Linked DNA regions of Homo sapiens: regions 1 and 3 are each linked to region 2. Evidence: promoter capture Hi-C in 16 types of primary human blood cells and fetal thymus (Javierre and others, 2016). All regions are on one chromosome and are shown on one strand. Each heading gives the region's core, a stretch centred on a gene start or on the middle of the fragment in contact. The rest is flanking DNA. Distances are from core to core; before and after follow the strand shown. Region 1 has its middle 17 kb from the start of RASSF3-DT. Region 2 holds the start of TBK1 (TANK binding kinase 1). Region 3 overlaps RASSF3 (Ras association domain family member 3).

The links. Contacts are between HindIII fragments. The CHiCAGO score rates a contact against its expected background, and 5 or more counts as called.
Region 1: a fragment that was not itself captured here is called in contact with the fragment with the promoter of TBK1 in region 2 in 1 of 17 cell types (non-activated CD4 T cells); the score reaches 5.2 in non-activated CD4 T cells.
Region 3: a contact is called between a fragment that was not itself captured here and the fragment with the promoter of TBK1 in region 2, in 5 of 17 cell types (activated CD4 T cells, total CD4 T cells, non-activated CD4 T cells and 2 more). The highest score is 9.7, in activated CD4 T cells.

The regions. Positions count from the first base shown.
Region 1 is chr12:64,591,350-64,594,193 of GRCh38, reverse strand. It overlaps a transcript of RASSF3 not described here. Among named protein-coding and RNA genes, the nearest start is that of RASSF3-DT, 17 kb to the left of the region's middle. The HindIII fragment of the contact is 6,136 bases long and covers 1-2,844 here.
Region 2 is chr12:64,450,842-64,453,630 of GRCh38, reverse strand. TBK1 (TANK binding kinase 1) reads right to left here and starts at 1,511. Exons shown (of 21, transcript NM_013254.4): 1 at 1,444-1,511. XPOT (exportin for tRNA) reads right to left here. Exons shown (of 25, transcript NM_007235.6): 25 at 2,506-2,789. RefSeq lists a silencer at 1,171-1,640. The HindIII fragment of the contact is 9,573 bases long and covers 1-2,789 here.
Region 3 is chr12:64,682,963-64,685,940 of GRCh38, reverse strand. RASSF3 (Ras association domain family member 3) reads right to left here. Exons shown (of 5, transcript NM_178169.4): 2 at 1,047-1,154. Among named protein-coding and RNA genes, the nearest start is that of MIR548Z, 62 kb to the right of the region's middle. The HindIII fragment of the contact is 6,808 bases long and covers 1-2,978 here.

The DNA.
Region 1 (2,844 bases), core at 321-2,820, 140 kb before region 2:
CCTGGCTAATTTTTAAAATTTTTTGTAGAGATGGGGTCTCACTACGTTGCCCAGGCTGGTTTTGAACTCCTGGGCTTGAACAATCCTCCCACCTTGGCCTCCCAAAGTGTTATGATCACAGGTGTGAGCTACCACGCCCAGCCATGGCCCTCCCCTGCTTTTTTTTTTTTTTTTTTTTTTTTGAGACAGAGTCTCACCCTGTCGCCCAGGCTGGAGTGCTGTAGTGTGATCTAGGCTCACTGCAACTTCTGTCTCCTGGGTTCAAGTGATTCTCCTGCCTCAGCCTCCTGAGTAGCTGGGATTACAGGCACCTGACACCACACCTGACTAATTTTTGTATTTTTAGTAGAGATGGGCTTTCACCATGTTGGCCAGGCTGGTCTTGAACTCCTGACCTCAGGTGATCCGCCTGCTTGCCCCATGACCCTTCAAATAAAAAGGAGCAATCCTATTCAGCTTTGCTACAGGATTTCAAAATTTTACCTTAGAGGTTCCTTTAACAGAAAGAAGTTAATTTATACTAGTTATAATAATGTGTCCTCATATCCCCAGCTAGAATATACATTAGGCCTATATAATCTGTTTGTTTAAAACACAGAAGAGAATTATGAGATATTTGTTGAAAGAACCTGTTTACATTAAGTCATGGATGTAGCAGCTAAAAAAACACAACTTCAGCCAGGCACAGCTCATGCCTGTAATCCCAGCACTTTGGGAGGCTGAGGTGGGCAGATAATTTCAGGCCAGGAGTTCAAGACCAGCTGGGCAACATGGCAAAACCCTGTCTCTACTAAAAATACAAAAATTAGCCAGGCATGGTGTTATGTATCTATAGTCCCAGCTACTTGGGAGGCTGAGGCAGGAGAATTGCTTGAACCCCAGAAGCGGAGGTTGCAGTGAGCTGAGATAGCTCTACTGCACTCCAGTCTGGGTAACAGAGTGTGAGACTCTGTCTCCAAAACAAAGCACAACTTCATGGCAAAATAGAATGCAATAAGCAGAGTCCAAAGGCAAATGACAGGAACTAATCTTGATTGTGGTCATGGTGGGTTACACAATTATATACATATACTTCTTGCACTGTGCTCTAAAATGTGTGAATGTAATGTGTTTGTAAATTATACTTCTACCTTGATTTTTTTAATGAGGTAATTCTAATTAACAAATGAGGAAAAGGTACTTGCAAATTTTTTCATAAACAGCAAATATCTATAATCTGTAGAACATTCCCAAACATCGAGAAGAGCAAACGCCAGTCATGCACAGTGGCTCATGCCTGTAATCTCACTACTTTGGGAGGAGGAAGGAGGATCACTTGAAGCCAGGAGTTCAAGACTGGCAAGACCTTGTCTCTACAAAAAAATAAAAATAAAATAAAATAAAATAAAAATTAGCCAGGCATCTTGGCATGCACCTGTAGTCCTAGTTATTTGAAAGGCTAAGGCAGGAGAATCCCTTGAGCCCAGGAGTTCAAGGCTGCAGTGAGCTATGATTGTACCACTGTACATCAGCCTGGGCAACAGAGCAAGACCCTATCTCAAAACAGAAAAAACTTGGTAAAAATACAAAAGTTAGACAACTTCCTTACTGAGGTTGCAGAAAAACAGGCATTCTCACATACGGTTGTTTGGAATGCAAAATGGTACAATTGCAAGACAGGCTAATCCCATAGTATCCAGCAAAATTACATATGCATTTCCTCTTGTAGGAAACAATATCAAAGACACACTGAAAAAAAATATAAATGCCTCATGGTCAAAGTTAAGACTGTACCATTATTTATAGTAACAAAAAAAGGAAACAACCTAAATATCCATCAATTAGGCAAATTGGCTAATGGAATATTATGTAGCTATTAAAAAGAAATCAGGACTCTCTCAGTACACTGATATGGAATAACCTCCAGGATAAATCATTTAAAAAGAATAGTGCAGAACAGTGTTCATAGTATGCTGGCTATTTAGAAAATATTTTTTTAAAAGAAGCAACAGAATAGCTGATGTGGTGGCTCATGCCTGTAATCCCAGCACTTTGGGAAACTAAGGTGGGCAAATCACTTGAGCCCAGGAGTTCAAGACCAGCCTGGGCAACATGGTGAAACCTCCTCTTTACAAAAATTACAAAAATTAGCCAGGCATGTGGCATACGCCTGTAGTCCCAGCTACTCAGGAGGCTGAGGTGGGAGGATCTCGTGGGTCTGGGAAGCAGAGGTTGCAATGAGCCAAGATCGTGCCACTGCACTCTAGCCTAGGGGACACAGTAAAACCCTGTCTCAAAAAAAAAAAAACAGCAACCGAAGGAATAATAAAAATTAGTTATTTGTAGGGGGATAGAGGGAAACAGATGAGAACACATAATGGAAGCACAACTGATGTGACTATATCTAGGTTTATAGTTCTGATTTTGAAATTCTATGAATGTTTACATAACTAAAAATCTAAGTTTAACCAAAAGTGGGAAAAAGCAACTCCTAAATTGAAAACAAAATAAATGAACCTACTGAATATTTAGAGGCACGCACACAAAAATTGCTCAAAAATAAAAAAGGAAATATATCTTGAAATATGTATTGATGAAATGACATGATGTCTGGGGTTTGCTTGAGTAAAAGGAAGAAAAAAAGAATGGACAAAACAAGTGTGGCAAAATCTTGACAACTGCTAAATGCACATGATTGGTTTGTTATATCATTCTCTCTCAGGTTGACTTTTTTTTTTTAGATGGAGTCTCATGCTGTGGCCCGGGCCTGGAGTGCAGTGGCGGGATCTCGGCTCACTGCAACCTCCGCCTCCCAGGTTCATGCAATTCTCCTGCCTCAGCCTCCTGAGTAGCTGGGATTACTGG
Region 2 (2,789 bases), core at 262-2,761:
ATTAATGACCACCAATATCCCCAAGCTGGGTTAGGAAAATGCAGAATGGTCAGGGGTCTCAATTTTACCAATCACTGATATAGTAGGATATTTTTATATAATTTTACTACCCATCTAATTTAGATAAACTTTATATACGACTATAGGAAATAAGCAATAAAAATAAGATTCCCTTTTCACAAATAAGGAATACACATTTGCCAGTCATTACATTTCACTCACGATACAATAACAAACGTCTCAACTATCTAACGAAAAACCTTCCCTAATCAATGTAACTGTAAATGGCAAATAGTACCATTAGGTACCTATATGTATGTACCTTCAGGATAATAAGAAAAATATTTATCAGCTAAGATATCTGTTCTCTATGCAAATACAAAACTATGGTTTCTATTTAACAGTAATCACAATAGTGGTCAGGGGAAATGTCTTTTGAAATTATCTTCCAATAACTCCACAATAACATGTTAAAACATGACTCAGCACACCCACAACGTGCTTGCCATATAAATCTTCCCAAATTTTTGACAAGCATATAAGCAGACACTCAACAACTATGTTGCTGATGATGCCGTCTTCAGCCTACTTCCTTACACCGTCCAAAACGAAAGTTACTATTTGTTGAGGGATGAAAACAGGTTTGACGACATGGCCTATGGACAAAGTTCCAGGATTTCTAAACTCTGCCCCTATGTGATTCATACACTGGGGTTTCAGAGTGGAAAAGACCAGTCTTTGGTTATACATTTGGCAATTACTTGGGAGTTGTTTTGAGGCCACCTACTAAGAATACTTGGGATAGAGATTACAAATTAAACCCATAAGCCAGGTAGACGAGGAGCAAGGAAATGTCTGGGAATTCGTATTTCATCGGCATATATTTAAAACATCTTATGCTTCTAATTTCCGGTGTGAGTCAACCTCTGCGGACTGAACATCACTAAAACTCTAAGGAAACGTCTCTTTTTAATCCTCTGAAAAATCAATACATTTAAAAACTGCCCGTTGTGTCGACGCTCGGAAAGAGGGTAGAAAACAGCGAGTCTAAGGGAAAGAGGTGCCCCTGCCTCCCCAGGCAGCCAGGGCCCAGGCCCGGTAACGGAGTCGTCCTCTTTATGCCCAAAGCCGCCGGACGGGATGCAGGTCGAGGACCGGCCGCGCGGCGCGGAGCGGGGATGCAGGTAACAGGGCCCGCGCGACCATTCCACCGGCTACGGCCACCCGACACACACCCCAGAGGCAGTGTCCACGCAGCCGGGGTCCTGGATGGCTTGGCCTCGGGTCGTCCGGGGCTTCTCGGTGCGCCCGCCCCCGCCCCCGCTCTGACTCAGCATCCCAGCCTCCCACAGGGGGCGGGAGCGCTCCCCGCCGGGCGGCGCAGGCCTGACCGACCGCGCCCCGCGCCGCCTTGGCCCCTCAGCCCGCGGCCGTCTCACTTACCCAGCCGGGTCTCCGCCGCGCCACCGCCGGCGGGCTCCCGCGGCCTCCTCGAGACTCAGGACACTTCCGGCTTCGCAAGCCCTGGCCGGAGGCCACGTGACCGACGGCCGGCGCGCCGGTGCGGGTGCGCGTGCGCACGCCTATGGCCCGTCTGGTAGTCACCACAGCCGCGGCGGCAACTGCCGAGTCGGCTTCCGCGGCCACGGTAATGAGGGGGATGTCTGGAGACACCCCGTCCACTGTTGCCCTCGCCCTTTACTCTAAAGGGGAATGAGGAGCCCTGAGCAGCGAACACAGTAATTGGGATTCCCGCAACTGCAAATCCCGCCCCTTCCCCGAGCGCTGGCCGACAGTAGGGCGGACCGACGCTGAGCAAGGGATTACATCCCAAGATTTACAGGTGTGCAGAACGTGGGACACGTGGGGGGCAGGCACAGACGGCCGGCAGAGCTGGGAGGGATGGATTCTATGTTTTAAGGGCCCACTTTGGCTGCAGTGGAGCCAGATTATCGTCTCGCAGTAATTCAGACTTTACATTGTTTTTTTCATTTTCCCATCACCCAGAAATACATTAAATTCTTAATGTAAAAATGTTCATTTAATTCCCTCTCGGTATTTTGGAAAACGGCCGTATTGGAGTATCTAACTCTAAACTTAAGAATTTAAGAACTAAAACTTAAATACTAAAATTAGGTCCTGCAATATTCGTGCAGTCAAAATCTCAAGCCGCTATTCCCAATAAGGAATAGCTTTCTGAAGGGGTCCCTTCTGCCCACGGACAGCACAACAGGCCTTTCTCAACATGAGGGAGCAGAGACCGCTGCTAATCTAGGGCTAAATTTCTGAGTGGAGGGGAAGAGGAAGATGGTGTTTCCCAGAGTAGCAGCAGCAAACACGAATGAATGGGAAGTCATGCGGAGTGGCTCAGAGGCTTTTGAATGTAACAGACCTAGGGTTGCTGTCTCGGCTGCCAATTACTGACTTAAAAGCTAATCTCTTACCTCTCTAAGCCTCAGTTTTATCAAATGCACAATGGAGATAACAAAAGTCCACTCTAATGAATTCTTACAAAGCAAGTTACTTTATTAGCATTTTAAACAATGTATAAGTGATGGAATCATTCTAACAACACATCTATTCACTGCTTACAATTCCAACTAATTTCAGTTCTTTGATATCTAATGACAAGAGCGAAGACCTGTTAAAGTTCCTTCCACCAGTAAAACTCACAGCTCAAAGTTGTGGGAGTGATTAACTGAGCCACAGGCCTTCATTCACATGTTTACCACATTAAAATACCACACAGTGTTTTCTTATAAGGTCAACCAACTGGGAAGCAATTAACA
Region 3 (2,978 bases), core at 247-2,746, 230 kb before region 2:
CAGTAAACAGACTGAGAGACGGGGATCCAAGTGCCCTGGAAACTGGCGCCAAGGGCTGACAAGTGCCATGAAGAAGGCGGGCCACCCAATGGGTAGGCGAGACCTAGATGCCAGCTAAGTTTAGAGGAACATGAATACTCTAGCTCCGCTGTCAGCTCGTTTCCCTATCCCCAGGCCCTGAGGCTTCTCCCTCCTGTACGCCGACTCCCTGCATGCTTCAGTGTGGCACAATGCTGTGGAAGCCTGCGACAGCGACGTGGAAGAAACTGAGTATTAAGTACCTTGTCTTACACTAACGACCGGCAGAGAAAACTATCCTATTATATACCTCTATATTCCAATCCATGGGCTCAAAATCCTTTCCCTGACACTTCCATATTTATTTTGTACAAGACAAAAACTTAGGGGCTTCTGATACCTGTAATCCCAGCACTTTGGGAGGCCAAGCTGGGCAGATCCCTTGAGCCAAGGAATTTGAGATGAGCCTGGGTGATATGGCAAAACCCCGTCTCTACAAAAAATACAAAAATTAGCTGGGCATGGTGGCAAGCACCTGTGGTCCCAGCTACTCGGGAGGCTGAGGTGGGAGGATTACTTGAGCCCGGAGGTCGAGGCTGCAGTGAGCGGTGATCGTGCCACTGCTCTCCAGCCCAGGTGACAGAGCAAAACCTTGTTTCAAAACAAAACAAAACAAAAAACCTTACCTGAGGTCTTCTTAGAATCTGAGTCACCATTTCTGTATGTTAGGCAATGATGCTAAAAATCCTTTGAGGAGGGAGGGGTGGGTCACAAAATCTTTTAAAATAAAATTATAAGTGTTTCACTTTTTTAAGGTTAACCCAGCAACTGATTTTTGAGACAAAGCTACTTCACAATACAGATTTAAATGGAAAGCCACAGAAATATTCCACTTTCCTGTTCTGTATACCTTGACTACTACACTTCTACAAATGCTATTCAGATATTTAGAACTATAGATTGTAGTACCAACAATTTATATTTGTCTTTTGACAGGTGTCAACCTAAATAGTATTTTGAGTGCTTACCAAGGTCATCTTCAACTTGTCTGTGACTGCTAAGTTGTATTTATGAACTTTCTCTTTGATCTCCTCTTTGCTGAGGTAACTGTGGGTTTCCTTCTCTTTCTCAACATCCTAGAAGAAAAACAAGACATGTCACATGTGAGCAATCATAAAAAAAAGTGCGGATAGGCCGGGCGCAGTGGCTCACGCCTGTAATCCCAGCACTTTGGGAGGCTGAGGTGGGCGGATCACCTGAGGTTGGGAGTTCAATACCACCCTGACCAAAATGGAGAAACCCTGTCTCTACTAAAATTACGAAATTAGCTGGGCATGGTGGCGCACGCTTGTAAACCCAGCTACTTGGGAGGCTGAGGCAGGAGAATCACTTTGAACGTGAGAGGCAGAGGTTGTGGTAAGCTGAGATCACGCCATTGCACTCCAGCCTGGGCAACAAGAGCAAAACTCTGTCTCAAAAAAAAAAAACAAACAAACAAACAAACAGATAAGTCAGGATTTTTTAAAAATTCCACACAAGGGCCGGGCACGGTGGTGGAAGCCTGCAATCCCAGGACTTTGAGAGGCCAAGGACGGCAGAGCTTAAGCCCTGGAGATTGTGACCAGGCTGGGCAACATGAGGAAACTCTATCTCTACAAAAAATACAAAAATTAGCTGGGCACAGTGGTGCACACCTGTAGTCGCAGCTAGTTAGGAGGCTGAGGTGGGAGCATCACCTCAGCCCAGAGGTCGAGGCTGTAGTGAGCCATAATTATGCCACTATGCTCTAGCCTGGGTGACAGAGTGCGACCCTGTCTCAAAAAAAAAAAAAAAAAAATTACAACCACACAAGAAGAACCTTATTGTTCTTGCATGTTACCTTGAAACACACACACACACACACACACACTCACTCTCTCTCTCTCTCTCTCTCCTTCTCTCCCTCGCTGCTTCTCTTTCTCTCTTACCTTCAAACTCTCCAGGCTCATCCACCAATTACGGTTCTCATTCTTTCATACTACAGTCTTCCTAGGGGATATATTTTTTAAGAAAACTAATTTGTCAGCAGCTACAAGTAACACTTCATTACCAATATATTCTGCAAAACTGTCATTGCTAAATTTCCCTTCTGCAAAAACATCATTTCCTCAGCATGCCTGCTAGATTGGCCATTTCTATTTTAAACAACATTTAAAGACATTTACCACAAGTTTCTCTTTAGCAACTTGTATTAACTCTGTTGTCTTTATAGCTTTACAATATTTATTGGCAAAAAGTACAGCAGTTAATCAGTATTAACTGGCACTATTCACGGACTCATACTAATCACTGACCTGTAAACTGTACACAACTACCAGAGGATAATTCATCTTCCAAACAAATCCCCAGGCCAAGATACAAGTAGCCAGACTTCTCCTTCCCACCCTTCCAGTCTCACCCACTTCTCTACCTCCCCACACTCTAGAGGGAGAAATATCGGTTAAATCCTCTTCTCACTGTGAAGAATTTACCAATAATTAGCTGTCTAAAGAGTCCCACCAGTGCATGACATTATGCAGTAGCAGACATGATCACAAATGACCAAATGACAGCATTTTGTCACCCTGATGAAGTATACCAGGCACCAAACTTGTATTGCCTTTACTTCTCCCAACAACCTAATCAAGGAGGCATTATTATGCCAGTTTCAGTAAATTAAACTGCTGAAAAAAAATGTGGAAGCAAATGAAAGCCTGCTAATCCTCCCTAACTCCAACCTTTACTGGGAGCTCTAAGTAATTCCACAGGGGTGTTCTCATTTAATCCTCCCAACAATGAGCTAATTAATGCTAATTAGCACCCCTACGTTACAGATAAGGACAGAAGATTTACAGAGGTCAAGCAGTTTGTCCAAGGACAACCCAACTAGTTGAGAGACCAAGTTCCACTTTAATCCAGGTCTTCTAGGGTGCTCCCACTAA